Regions from separate parts of the Homo sapiens genome. Here regions 1, 2 and 4 are each linked to region 3. Evidence: promoter capture Hi-C in 16 types of primary human blood cells and fetal thymus (Javierre and others, 2016). All regions are on one chromosome and are shown on one strand. Each heading gives the region's core, a stretch centred on a gene start or on the middle of the fragment in contact. The rest is flanking DNA. Distances are from core to core; before and after follow the strand shown. Region 1 holds the start of LHFPL6 (LHFPL tetraspan subfamily member 6). Region 2 holds the start of VWA8 (von Willebrand factor A domain containing 8). Region 3 holds the start of SLC25A15 (solute carrier family 25 member 15). Region 4 overlaps COG6 (component of oligomeric golgi complex 6).

Region 1 (3,096 bases), core at 507-3,006, 1.2 Mb after region 3:
CTGCAGGTTGTACGGAGGTGACTCCGATTCTCACTATTATTCTTTTGTCTTTTATGATCATATCTTCCACCATCATATTATATAGGTATGAAGGCTCTGTGTAATAACTAAGGGTGTGGTACCTAACTGGAAGTCAGACCAATCATTCTTATGCTGTCACTGAAACCAGTAACCGGTGATTTGTAAGAGAAGAGTTAAAACAACTTAAACTCAACAACAACACCAAAAACAAAAACACTTAAATTGGGGATTCTGAATATGGGATTCATGGATGGGCTTTAAGGGAATGGGAAACCACCTGATATTTCATTCAAATGATTGACATTTTGGCCCAGGTAATTTTGGGGACTGTCCTGTGCACTGTATTTAGCAGAATCTCGGGTCTTTACCAACTAGATGCCAGTAATACTCCCCATTCATGGGTTATGATAATCAAAATTATCTTCAGACCTTGCCAAATATCCCTTTCCTTCTTCAGAATCGCTGTGGTAAAGCTTTATATGTCCGCGCATTTTTTTTTCTGGAAGGCTTATCAGTTTCATCGTATTTTTTAAAAGACCTGTGACCTCAAAAGGCTTGGAATCAATCACTTAAGGTCTTTCAAAATAATAATAAAAGAACACATATCTCCAGCTGTCGTTGTGGGAAAAATGTACACCATCACGGCTAATTAAAATGGTGCAGTCTGAAAATCTGCTATGAAATATATACCTACCAATTTATTACTTTCAACTCCTCTAAAAAGACACCTCACAAAAACTATATCTGGGAAACTGTCTACTTCAAAAACTGCTGTTCCCAGATGGCATACTTCTTAAAATACTGTGTTCAGCAGAGACTCCCACAGTCATCTACTGAATCTAGCTCTAAACTTCTAAAGGGGTTAGTGCTAATGACAAGTGGAAAAAGTCCTCAAGTCCAGAGGGGAACTAAAAATCAGTTGTTTCTCAGAAAAGAAATCAAACGATGGAATAAATTGCAAAATTGATCAGGAGGCAGGATGGAGGAGAAGGGAGGGAGGAAGTGAAGGGAAAGGGAGGGAGGGAGGGAGAGAGAGACAGAGAAACAGCAAGAGAGAGAGAGAGAGACCTTTGAAAGAGTGTATCTCTTGGGAGAGGCTCGCTAGAGGTCCGCCCCTGCCTTCTCCCTGGCTCGTCTGGAAAGGCAGCTGCCCCCATGCCATACATGAGCCTTGGGCTGTCTGCTGTGCTTTAATTCCCACGTCCACAACCGCCTCATTCACCGCCTTCCAAAGTGACCACTTCTCAAAAGCCTCCTCAAATCTCAAAGGGGCCACTTTACCCACTCTTTAAGGCCCTCTTTCCCGTCTACGGCTTCTTTTAACGGCGGCAGGAAAACAGGAGCATAAACCCGAACAGTAAACCCAGAAAAGCCCCAACAGGCAAAGTGTGTCATCTTCCGTGGCTCCTCGGGGTCACCCAGGAAGACAAGCAACTTTCTCCCATACTTCTCGGTCTGTCTGCCTTCCCCACTCAGCTTTGAATGAGACGCAGGGAGAGGGGGCGCGAGGGGGCTCGGGGCTAGGGGAGGAGCCGCGAAAGCTGCCCCCGGGGGTGGGCCTGGACCCGCGCGGACAGCGGGGCACCCCCCCACTCCCTTCCCGGCGCTCCAGGAACGTCCCCGGTGCGTCCTGGGTCTGTCTGCGCGGAGTTCCCCGGGGCGCGAGGGGAGGGGACTGGAGAAAGAGGAGGGCCGGGCAGCGGAGGGGAGGAGGCGGTGCGTGCCTCGCCTGCCAAAGGGAGATCCGCTCCTCTGCGTGCGATCCCCGGCGCCCGCGCGCGCCCACAGCGCTCCGCCAGAGCTGCCGCCGCGGACTCGCCGGGAGTGGGGGTCTCCGCTGGTGCCAGCCCGCTTCTGGAGACCCTCCGCCTCCTGCCAACCCCTGCTCTTCCAGGTCGGGCCCCGGGGTTCTGCGGCTGTTAGGGACAGAGGCAAAGAAGGGCAGGACGGTCCGGTTTCCCGTGGATGTTCCCGCCCGAGAAAGACAGCAAGTTGTGTGTGCGCCCGGGACGCGGGAGGGAAGGTGGCCGCCGCCCGCCAGCCATGTAAGTAAATCACTCGGCTGCCCCGTGGGCGTGGGCTCCGCTGCTTTCTCCCGGGCTCCCTCTCTGCCCCGGAGCCGGAGTTGGGCTGCTCCCGGGCTCCGGACTTCCTGAGCTCGGCGGATCCGTCGGCTCTGCCTGCCAGCCGCGTCCGCTCTTGGCGTCTGCCTCCGGGGGGTGCTGCCTTCCCATCCTTATCCCCTCCCTTCGTCCAGAGCCGGCTGGAAAATGCCTCTTGCCCCCTTTTAGAATGGAGGGATCATTGTGTGTCTCCATGGGTGGAGTGGCTCGGTGAGGCAATGGCAGGGGGCTAAATATGGGCTTGTCTTGGCGAGGGCGCCTCACCGCAGTTGGAGATGGGGGCCCCCTGCCCGCAGGCCACCCCCTGCTGGTCTTCCCCAGCCTCGTGGCCCAGATAGATCAACTTCAGCCCTGACTGCAGTTGACAAGATTAGAAAAAAAAGTAGTAGCCGACCTCCCGTTTGAGTGACATCCAGAACTGAAAATGGGCGGTGGTTAGAGAAAAAAACGGGTAGGGGCGAGGTGAAGAAAGGGGGAAATTTGCTATGGACCCTGAAAGCTGGAGTTAGGGGTCCTGGGGGTGGAATTCTAGGGTGGATGGGCTCTGTGCTTCTGTATTCATTTCTTTATGGAAAGTGTGAGAAATGGTTAAGGAACTCTTTTTGAAAGGCTGGGGTGGAAGTAGATGCCCCTGGAACCATTTGGATGACTGGGGTTTGATGTAGCATACTGGGAAGTATGGATTGCTGTTCAAATTAGACAATCATTCAGTGGGAGAAATGATTGCAATAGAACTGTTGGAATCAATGAATCAAAACTGCAGACTCAAAATAAGTCATACACAGGCATTCTTTTACACTAGAAGATGTTAAGACTAAAGAAATTCTGAAATGCTGCTGAATGAGTACAAAGAGTGTCTGGTAATAGTTCTGTACTGTGGGTGCCTCCGCAGACCATAATGCTTGTTAAATTTATGGTACTCTGCAATTGTGAAAAATTATCCTAATTAGTT
Region 2 (3,368 bases), core at 97-2,596, 1.2 Mb before region 3:
GTTTCTTCATCTGTAAAACGGAGGATAATAATAGTACCTCAAAGCATTTTTATGTGAAATGGGATAATTCATTAAAATCTTGATACATACAATGTGCTCAAAGTAGGAAAAGCATTTTATAAGCTTACATCCTAAATTTATGTCTTAGGGTTGCTATGAGGATTAAATGAGAAGATACACATGAAACGAAGTCATAATATATTGTGTAACTACTTATTACCTTTATTTTCACTGTCTCCTCATCTAGGTTAGAAGCCTGGTTCAGCCTTCATTCCTCAAGTTCTTCCGCTGGATGCCCAAAGCCTTCCTTACCTAGCCTTGTTTGACTTTTACAGTCTCCACTCTAACACTCTCTTCTCAGCACTCATCACAGGGTCAGGCGCAGGGTAGGTGCTATGTATTTAGACAGTGGCAGCTCTAGAATTAGCAAGGTCTTTAGCTGAAAGTGAGGTCTTCTGCCTTCTTTTTGATGTTTGCTTGTATAACTTGTCTCAAATATTTTGCCTTAGTCAATTCACTGTGACATTTTGGGGATGCAGTCTAATTACATTAGGCTTAGTTTGCTTTGTGGTAGGACCATTTCCGATGTTGGAATGTACAAGAGGGAGGCAGCCTTAGCCAGTGTCCTACTTTTTCCTTTACTAAAGACATAAATCATCTTTATATAACTTTTGTATTACAGCATGACTAGAAAAGTGCTTGATCTGGATCCTTTCTGATATTTAAGCAATTTCCATCTATCACTAAGATGTGAATTTTTTCCTTAGAATTTAGGAAGCGGTAATAAAACACAGAAACAAACAACCACCACCAAAAGGACAAAGGGTAAAGCTTTCACGTACGGTTTGGAAACACTAGTGTGGTTACAATGAATCAAGACAGTTGTGAAAGTTCCCATCATCTTGTGCATGTTTTCTCCATTTCCGAAATCTGAAGCCGAATACAGGGAAAGCTCCCTATACTTACTGGGCCTTTAACTAAGAAACGAAGACTTGGGGCAAGCATCTGAAGAGTCACACCGACAAATGCTCCTAAAACCCTTGGCATTTACTGAACTCCTGAGATTCTGTGGGATCGCAGGGAAACGGCGGGTGAAGGCCTGGTGCATCCAGGTGAACAGACAGTCTCACGGACTGCGAGGCGCTTGCCAGAGCCCAGCGCCGCAGCTCGGAGCACCCCCGCGGTGCGGGCAGTCCCGGGACGGTGCCGGCTCTTTGGGCTGGAGCTCCGCAGGCTCTTTCCGCCCGTCTGGGCCATGCAGGGCCGGGTAGGGCCGGGCTGAGTCTACTGAGCCGGCCGCGCCGCGGGGGAAGGAGTTTCCGGCGGACTCGGCTAGGTGCCGCTTCCTGTCCCCTTCTCCGCGCTGCCTCACGGTGCCTGCACGGGACGCCGCTCGATCCCCGAGCCCCCTCGCCGTCCCCGACAGCCCCCCCGGCGCCATGCAATCCCGGCTTCTACTCCTCGGGGCACCCGGAGGCCACGGCGGCCCGGCCTCGCGGCGCATGCGGCTGCTCCTGCGGCAGGTGGTGCAGCGCAGGCCGGGTGGCGACAGGCAGCGGCCGGAGGTCAGACTGTTGCACGCCGGCTCGGGGGCCGACACAGGTAACTCGGGGTGCGCCCCTGTCCTCCCTGGTGCCCCTGCGCTCCGTGCCGGGTCCCCGCGCGCCCCCGCCCCTCCTCTCTGTTGCTTCGCTGCGCTTGGAAGGACCGTTTGCCGAGCGGGGAGCTGAAAGATTGAGGTTCTAGTCCCGACCTCGGCGCTAACTGCTGTGTAACGTGGGGGCAAGGCGCTCGCCCTCTCTGTGCCTGATTCTGCAACCCGAGGGGTCTGGACTAAGGTTTCTGATGACCTAGAAGAGTGATTTCTCCTTCCCCTGCCGCTGCCTTTACCCCCAGAATTCTGACTTAGGTTATAATACTCGTAGAGGTTAATGCCTCAGCCCTATGGAATTATTGAAAGCTGGATTTGACCTTGCTCTCTGAGCCTCAAGGGCCTGGAAGCCGGTCTGTGTCATGTTCTAGCCAGGGCTTGTGGCGGCTTAGAAGGGAACATTCTTGCCAAAGAACCCATAGTTCACGGTGTTTTAAATGCATCCCCGAGCCTTTCCAAGTTTTACAGGAGTTTTCCTTAAAGTTTCACGTAATTCTTAGAGCTGACAGTTACACCTTAATTTAGTTAAAACACTTGCCTCTACAAATGAGGTAATTGAAACCCAGAAGGGAAAAGTGATTCGCTGGAGAACACACAACTAATTACTATGCTAGAATCACATGCTTTGATTTCTAAGCTCAGTATTTTTTGGCTCTACTTGAGCTGGTTTTAGGAATTCTTTTTCTTGTGTGTTGGTGGAGTTAGAGTTACTGTGATGGTTAAGGAAAGGATATCTGTTGTTGCTACCCTTGAATGGTGAAGTGATTCCAGACAAGATTTTGTCAATGTCAGTGCTGCTTGGAATAACAGGTTTTCACTATGAAATTGTAGGTTTCGTTGTCCTCTTGCATTTTCCCCGCAACCCCCAGTTTTCCTTGCTAAGAAATGAGCATATGGGCCGGGCGCGGTGGCTCACGCCTGTAATCCCAGCACTTTGGGAGGCTGAGGCGGGCGGATCACGGGGTCAGGAGATCGAGACCATCCTGGCTAACACGGTGAAACCCCCGTGTCTACTAAAAAGAAAATACAGAAAAATTAGCCGGGCGTGGTGGCGGGCGCCAGTAATCCCAGCTACTCCGGAGGCTGAGGCAGAAGAATGGCGTGAACCCGGGAGGCGGAGCTTGGAGTGACCGGAGCCACTGCACTCCGGCCTGGGCGACAGAGCAAGACTCCATCTCAAAAAAAAAAAAAAAAAAAGCATATTTAGGTCCCACGTATTTCGTTTTATTCATTGAAGACATACACCACCCCCGTCCCCCACCATAGTGTTGCAATTTCAAATTTTACTTTTTGTTTTTTTTTTTTTTTTTGCTTTTTCTCAATTACTCTCACTTCTGGGCTGTTTATTCATTTGTTTTTTACATTTTTTGTGTGTTCTTTATTTGTTTTTTGCTCCTTTGCCCTAGAAGGCAGAGGTCAAAGGTGGAAGTATAGCATAAACTATAGGTTGGGTTTTGGAGTTAAACAATTTGGGTTGGAATCCACTTATCCACTATCTAACCATGGGTCGTTGAGGGTAGGTTACTTAACTTTGTGTCCTAGTTTTCTTAACTGTAAAAGGATAAGAAGAATATATCTATTATGGTTGTTGTGAGGATTTATTAATTAATATAATCTGTGGCACATATTAATGCTCAATAAAAGTTAGCTTTTTTATTCTTAGTATGTACAGTTTTAGCTATTTGAGAATTATTCTGTTTCCTTGCCTTTAGAAGAC
Region 3 (2,894 bases), core at 234-2,733:
AAAGAAAAAAACGGGGGCAACTGAGCAGACAGACAGAGGCAAGTACAATGTGGCCTCCTAGATAAACCTCAATGCGCTTATTTCTTTTGGCACAGACACTTCCTTCTTAATTTTGAAGGAAAGTCACATCACATTACATTCTATCTGTCCCTAAGAATTAAACCCTGTTAGGTGAGCCAAACTTAAACACATTAAATTCTACAAATAGGCCAGGCACAGTGGCTCACGCCTGTAATCCCAGCACTTTGGGAGGCCAAGGCGGGCGGATCACCTGAGGTCGGGAGTTCGAGACCAGCCTGACCAACATGAGAAACCCCCGTCTCTATTAAAAATACAAAATTAGCCTGGCGTGGTGGGCCATGCTTGTAATCCCAGCTACTCGGGAGGCTGAGGGAGGAGAATAGCTTGAACCCAGGAGGCGGAGGTTGCGGTGAGCCGAGATCGCCCCATTGCACTCCAGCCTGGGCAACAAGAGCGAAACTCCGTCTCAAAAAAATAAACAAACAAATAAATTCTACAAATAGCCATTAGAATTATTAGGATAGAAAACGATGATGGGTACTAACAGATTCACTCAGAAGGAGTGGGCAGCTAATTCACATTATGTGTAGCTCTGGCTTGGAGAAGACACAGGGCTTGGAGGAGGCAAGACTGTTCAGCATGAATTAAAATTGATTTATGAGCTTGCTGTAGCACTTGGAATAGAAAAAAGAATCTTTTCAGCGCCTTTGACCCCTCTCTCAAATTACACCAGGGTGCAACTGAGGAACAACAGTGCCGACCACCCACTTTTCTCGACCCTTGGGGAAAATAACTTTTTTTTGGAAGGGAGAGTCAGTAGATGAGGCTGCATTTTCCACCAGGGAACACGAACTGCTGCGGGAAGATCCCAGCTTCTGGCTAAAGGAGCCGCAGGCCAGCTCGCCATCCAGTCCCCAGAGCCCGGGCTTTAGGTAAAGCGTGGAGATGCAAATCAGTTTCGCCGCCAAGGACCGGCCAGGCGCGTCTCCTCCCGGGCCTCGCAAGGAACAGGTCAGGGAGACGACTTCCAACTTTCTTGGCCGGACCCTAAACGTTCACCGCCCCTGCCCAGCCGCCCACTCCTGGGCAGCCAGCAAGTCTCCATTCACAAGCGGCTCCATGCTGCCCAGCACTGGCGCCCCTGAGGCGCGGAGCCCCGCAGCCAAATGACAGGACTTGGGGGCAAACAAGGACAAAAGTTCCCACCAGGTGGGCACTGCAGGAAGGAGGCCGACAACCCCGAGATTCTCCGAGTCCCGCGGCACGTGCGCTGCGACGCTGGCCGCTTCCCCCGCCGCTCGGGAAGGTCACGCCGCCCGCACACCGAGGCCCGCCCCGCGCCCCGCTCCCCGCTCCCTCTGCCTGGCGCGCTCCCCGCAGCTGCAGGCGCCAGACCGGGCTGCGCTCACCGCCGCGCCGGCGTGGCCGCGTCCAGCTCAGGCTCCGCCGCCCGCTCTCGGCTCCGGGTCGCCGGCTGGGGCGGCCACTTAACACCCACGTCGGCAACGGCCGGCCCTTCGCCCCTCCCTTCGCGCAGGCATCCCGGACTGCGGCCCCGCGAAGCTCAGGAGCGCCCCTGCGGCTGGCGGGCGGCCTGCCCAGGGCCGTGCCCGAGCCGAGACCGGGAGCCGCCACCGCCCACCGGCCCTGCCACCGCCCCCAGCACGGGAAGCGGAAGTGGGCGTGGGGCCGCGGCGCGCACAGCCAGCCCGCGACCCGGCGTGGTGCTGCCGCCGACCCTGGTGAAGGTGGAGAGCGGGGCCTGCGCCTCCGGAGACTTTCCCACCTCTGGGATCCCCGAGACCCTCTCTGAGGCCGGACCCTTGTTAGCCCGCTGGGCTGGGACTGGGGGCTGGGGGCTGGTAATGTCAGTGGTTGGGAGGACTTACTTTTTAGCTACTTTGACCTTGTTGGGAGGCTAAGGCCTTATTTATAAATTATATTTGAGTACAAAATTATACTCGGGATCCAAGGCCCTAATAGGAAATACAACTAAGTATGAAAATACAGGAATTAGCCGGGCATGGTGGCTCACGCCTGTAATCCCAGCACTGTGGGAGGCCGAGGTAGGCGGATCACCTGAGGTCAGGAGTCCAAGACCAGCCTGGCCAACATGGTGAAACCCCGTGTACTAAAATTACAAAAATTTATCCAGCGTGGTGGTGCGTGTCTGTAACCCCAGCTACTAGGGAGGCTGAGGCAGGAGAATCGCTTGAATCTGGGAGGTGAAGGTTGCAGTGAGCCAAGATTGCATCACTACACTCCAGCCTGGGCTACACAGCGAGACTCCGTTTCATAAAAACAAACAAACAACGACAAAAAAAAAAAGGTGTGGTGACACATGCCTCTATTCTTAGCTATTTGGGAGGCCAAGGCGGGAGGATCGCTTGAGGCCAGGAATTGGAGGCCGCAGTGAGCTATGATGGCACTGTTGCACTCCAGCCTGGATGACAGAGACCTCATCTCTCTCTCTCTCTCTCTCTCACCCACACACACACACACACACACACACACACACCCTCCACACAGTGTAATTTTATTTTACAACTTTAAGCCTTGTTTAGATGTGCTGTTGGATTATTATTTTTTTCTTTTTTTTTCTTTTTTTTTTTGAGACAGAGTCTCACTCTGTCACCCGAGCTGGAGTGCAATGGTGCAATCTCAGCTCACTGCAACCTCCCCCTCCTGGGTTCAAGCGATTCTCCTGCCTTAGCTTCCCAAGTAGCTGGGATTACAGGCATGCGCCACCACACCCAGCTAATTTTGTATTTTTTAGTAGAGACAGGGTTTCACCACCTTGGCCGGGCTGGTCTCGAACTCCTGACCTCAGGTGATCTGCCTGCCTCGGCCTCTCAAAGTGCTGGGATTACACG
Region 4 (3,337 bases), core at 346-2,845, 1.1 Mb after region 3:
GGAATACTTTCAAGCATGGAATGCTCCCAAGGGAAAAAAACTATAAAAAAAGTTCTATTGAACTATAAAAAAATTAAAAGTTGATGTGTCAGAAAATACTACAGGCAAATTTTAAAGGCAAATGATAACGTGGAGAAAATGTCTGTAATATATATGATGGAGTTAATATTCTTAATGCATAAAGAATATCAGAAATGAACAAGACAACCCAATAGGAAAATGGCAAAGGACTTGAACAAGCAATTCACAAACAGCCAAAAACATATCTTAAAATGTTCATTCTCACTAGAATCACAGAAATCCAAATGAGAAAAACAACAAAATGTCGCTTTTGCTCGTCATGTTGGTAAAGATTTTTTTTTAATGTCCATTATCCAGTTTTAGCAAGAGTTGGCACTTTTTCAGTAGGAGGTAGTATGGTAGATTTGAGGAAATGGGTGAAAATAAGTGAGGTAAATGTGAGTGGCTGCCAAAGGACAATCAGTATTTGCTGGACCTCCTGGGGGGCTTTCCTGATGTTGGAGACAATTTTTAGTGATTCCTGTCTGTATGATGTAATTTTCTTTAGCAGAGCTCAGGAAAAATTGAAAAATTGAATTAACTCAAGGTGGTTTTGCAAAGTGAATGTGGTAAAATGGCAAGGGTGCAAGAGATTTAAAGCTAATGGCAAGATAGTGATGGAATATAGGCCAGCAGAAAATGAACTGAACCATTCATGTTACCAGTATTTATTGAGCACCTCATGAGCTGGTATATAAGAAAATTAATTACATTTGTATATTGATCTTTTCACCAACGACTTCACTAGAATTCATTTTCTGGTTGTATAGCTTTTTAGTTGATTCTCCTAGGTCTTCAAAATAGACTATCATAACATCCATAAATAATCTAATGTCTCCTCCTTTAAAATATTTACAATTCATTTCTTTATCTCATCTTTCTACCGTGGTTATTATTTAAAAGTATTGGCAAGCATTCTTGTTCTTCACTTAAATAGAAGAACCACTAGTGTGTCAATATTAATTATGATGTTGGCTGTTAGTTTTATCTCTCTTTATATGGTTAAGGAAGTATTCATCAATGACTTGTTTTAATATTAAGATTTTCCCCAATGTGATCAAATATGAGAATATAAAATTTATTTTATATACTCATTTAGTATATTTCCTAACACTGAAACATTCTTATATTCATGTAATAAACCATTCTTGGTTTTAATATATAAATGCTGAATTTTGAAGTTTTAAAACTTAAAAAGTGACTAATCTATGGTTTCCACTACTGACTATCTTTAAAAGGTTTTATGTCGGTGTTATACTACCTAAAACAAACTGGGAAGCTTTCCATATTTTTTCATGTTCTGGAGAATTATCTGTTCCTCCTAAGGATGAATGAAGTTCTCTATATAATCTGAACTAGGCCTGGCAACACGTTCTTTAATAACTTTTCTTCCTTCCTTAGGTATATTCACACTTTCCACTTCCTTTTGACTCACATTTTACCAATTTATGTCACCTTAAAAAGCATTCATCTTATTCTGATTTTCAGATGATTAGCACAAAACTGCACATGGTACTCTCTAAGTTTTAATTCTCATCTGTGGATTGTCTCTAATTTCTAAAAACTTCTAATTTTCTTTTTTTCTTGATTAGACTTGCTAGAAGTTTGTCAATTTTGTTTATCTTTTCAACAAATAATTCTGCTTTTGTTTTCTAATTTGTCACGGAAATTTAATTCCATCCTTTCCATATATCTTCATTTTATTGCTCTGTTTCAAATTTTTTAATACAAACGCCTAATGCATCTATTTTCAGTCTTGAGGCCCATATGTTTTCTAATTGGTAAAGCTTTGGGTAATATGCTTACCCATGAACTTTTCTACGTACTACAACCTGGCTCCTATCTCCACCACAGGACTAAAATTGCCCATTTAGGTCACCTATCACATATATATTGCCAAAGATAACAAGCCTCCTACTTGAACTCTTTAAAAGCATCTGTCATTATTAACCATGCCCTCCTTCTAGAAACTGTCTTCTCTTGGCTTTTCTGATAAAACCTTATCCTAATTTTTGTCCTGCCTCTCTGGCCATCCTCTCTCAGCATCATACTGTTGACGTTTTTCCTTCTCTTAAACGTCAGTGTTTCCCAAGACTGTGTCCTGGTAGCTCTACTCATAAAAAAAATTATTCCTAGTGACTTCATCCAAACCCATGAATTCAACTATCTCTTATATGTAAAACTCTCTAAATCCAAATGTATCACTCCCTTTTAGATTAGACCAATTCCAGAGGGATCTCTCATAGGCACCTCAAACTCAACTTATCTAACTTAGATGATACCATCTTTATCTCCCAAATTGTACCCTCTTTCTGCATTCTAGATATTTGTGATTAGCCTAGGAATTATTCTAGATGACTCCCTCTCACTAACCCACATTCAGTCATCAAGTTTTGAAGATTTTACCTTTACCCTTCATGAATCTGTCCCCTCTTGCCTATTCCCAGAGTCTTTCCCTTAGATCATGTATGAATAAAAACAGTTTCAATACTCCTTTAATTTTCCTATTTCCAACCTAGCCTCCCCACTTATATATATAAAACACATCACTTTACAAGTGATATTTTTTAATAAATGAAAAATTCTTTTATAGGTAACTCATACTCATGTTCTAGCATATTCTATTTCTTTCTTCTATTTAAGATGACCTCTATGCACTCCTTTCCTCACCTATCTAAAGCCTACCTGTTCTTCAAAGTTCAACTCCATTACATCTCTCTATGGAAAGCTTCCTCTCTGTAAAGGAGTACAGATAAGTTTGCTAAATATACTCCTCCTTTGGTGCTAGCATATACCCTAGGCACATGTCTTTCATAAATCATAGAATTCTATAATAACCAGACTTATTTGGTCATTTTCCACTAAAGGAAAAGCAACCTTAATGAGGCCAACAGATGTTGAGTGTTCATCCTTGTACTCTCAACAGCTAGCACATATTTGTTCATGTTTAATGTTTGTGTATCATGTATAAATTATTTTAGAAGAGTTCTGTCTAAATAAGAACTCATAATAACAAATATAACCAGAAATGATTGTTAGTAAACTGTTGATGCAAACAGAAATACACAAGGCAAGAAAAATAAAGGTAGATATTCCAGCTCCACAAATTCATGTTGCTTTTCCAAATGAATCTGAGTCATGCATGTGGGTCAGGAAGTAGACTCCTATTAAGGCTTAGGAAAGTGAAGACTGAACTTAGGAAAGTGAAGATTGACCACGTATTCTGGACTAAATTGCTACTGACTATTTTATACCATATTACAAAATCTGGGCCTAA

What was found. Contacts are between HindIII fragments. The CHiCAGO score rates a contact against its expected background, and 5 or more counts as called.
Region 1: the fragment with the promoter of LHFPL6 here is called in contact with the fragment with the promoter of SLC25A15 in region 3 in 3 of 17 cell types (M1 macrophages, total B cells and activated CD4 T cells); the score reaches 6.4 in M1 macrophages.
Region 2: the fragment with the promoter of VWA8 here is called in contact with the fragment with the promoter of SLC25A15 in region 3 in 1 of 17 cell types (non-activated CD4 T cells); the score reaches 5.4 in non-activated CD4 T cells.
Region 4: a contact is called between a fragment that was not itself captured here and the fragment with the promoter of SLC25A15 in region 3, in 1 of 17 cell types (total B cells). The highest score is 5.0, in total B cells.

The regions. Positions count from the first base shown.
Region 1 is chr13:39,601,853-39,604,948 of GRCh38, reverse strand. LHFPL6 (LHFPL tetraspan subfamily member 6) reads left to right here and starts at 1,756. Exons shown (of 4, transcript NM_005780.3): 1 at 1,756-2,066. LOC112268119 (protein SPT2 homolog) reads right to left here. Exons shown (of 4, transcript XM_035861111.2): 2 at 2,409-2,499; 3 at 1,307-2,305. RefSeq lists a silencer at 1,562-1,861. The HindIII fragment of the contact is 2,884 bases long and covers 497-3,096 here.
Region 2 is chr13:41,959,087-41,962,454 of GRCh38, reverse strand. It overlaps VWA8 (von Willebrand factor A domain containing 8), which reads left to right and starts at 1,346. Exons shown (of 45, transcript NM_015058.2): 1 at 1,346-1,602. The coding sequence starts at 1,440. It overlaps VWA8-AS1 (VWA8 antisense RNA 1), which reads right to left and starts at 1,286. Exons shown (of 4, transcript NR_039974.1): 1 at 221-1,286. RefSeq lists a silencer at 1,267-1,676 and enhancers at 1,877-2,016, 2,112-2,612, 2,613-3,113. The HindIII fragment of the contact is 5,183 bases long and covers 834-3,368 here.
Region 3 is chr13:40,788,200-40,791,093 of GRCh38, reverse strand. It overlaps SLC25A15 (solute carrier family 25 member 15), which reads right to left and starts at 1,483. Exons shown (of 7, transcript NM_014252.4): 1 at 1,431-1,483. RefSeq lists silencers at 1-201, 1,334-1,913. The HindIII fragment of the contact is 15,217 bases long and covers 1-2,894 here.
Region 4 is chr13:39,700,295-39,703,631 of GRCh38, reverse strand. All of the region lies in intron 13 of COG6 (component of oligomeric golgi complex 6), which reads right to left. Among named protein-coding and RNA genes, the nearest start is that of MIR4305, 38 kb to the right of the region's middle. The HindIII fragment of the contact is 508 bases long and covers 1,342-1,849 here.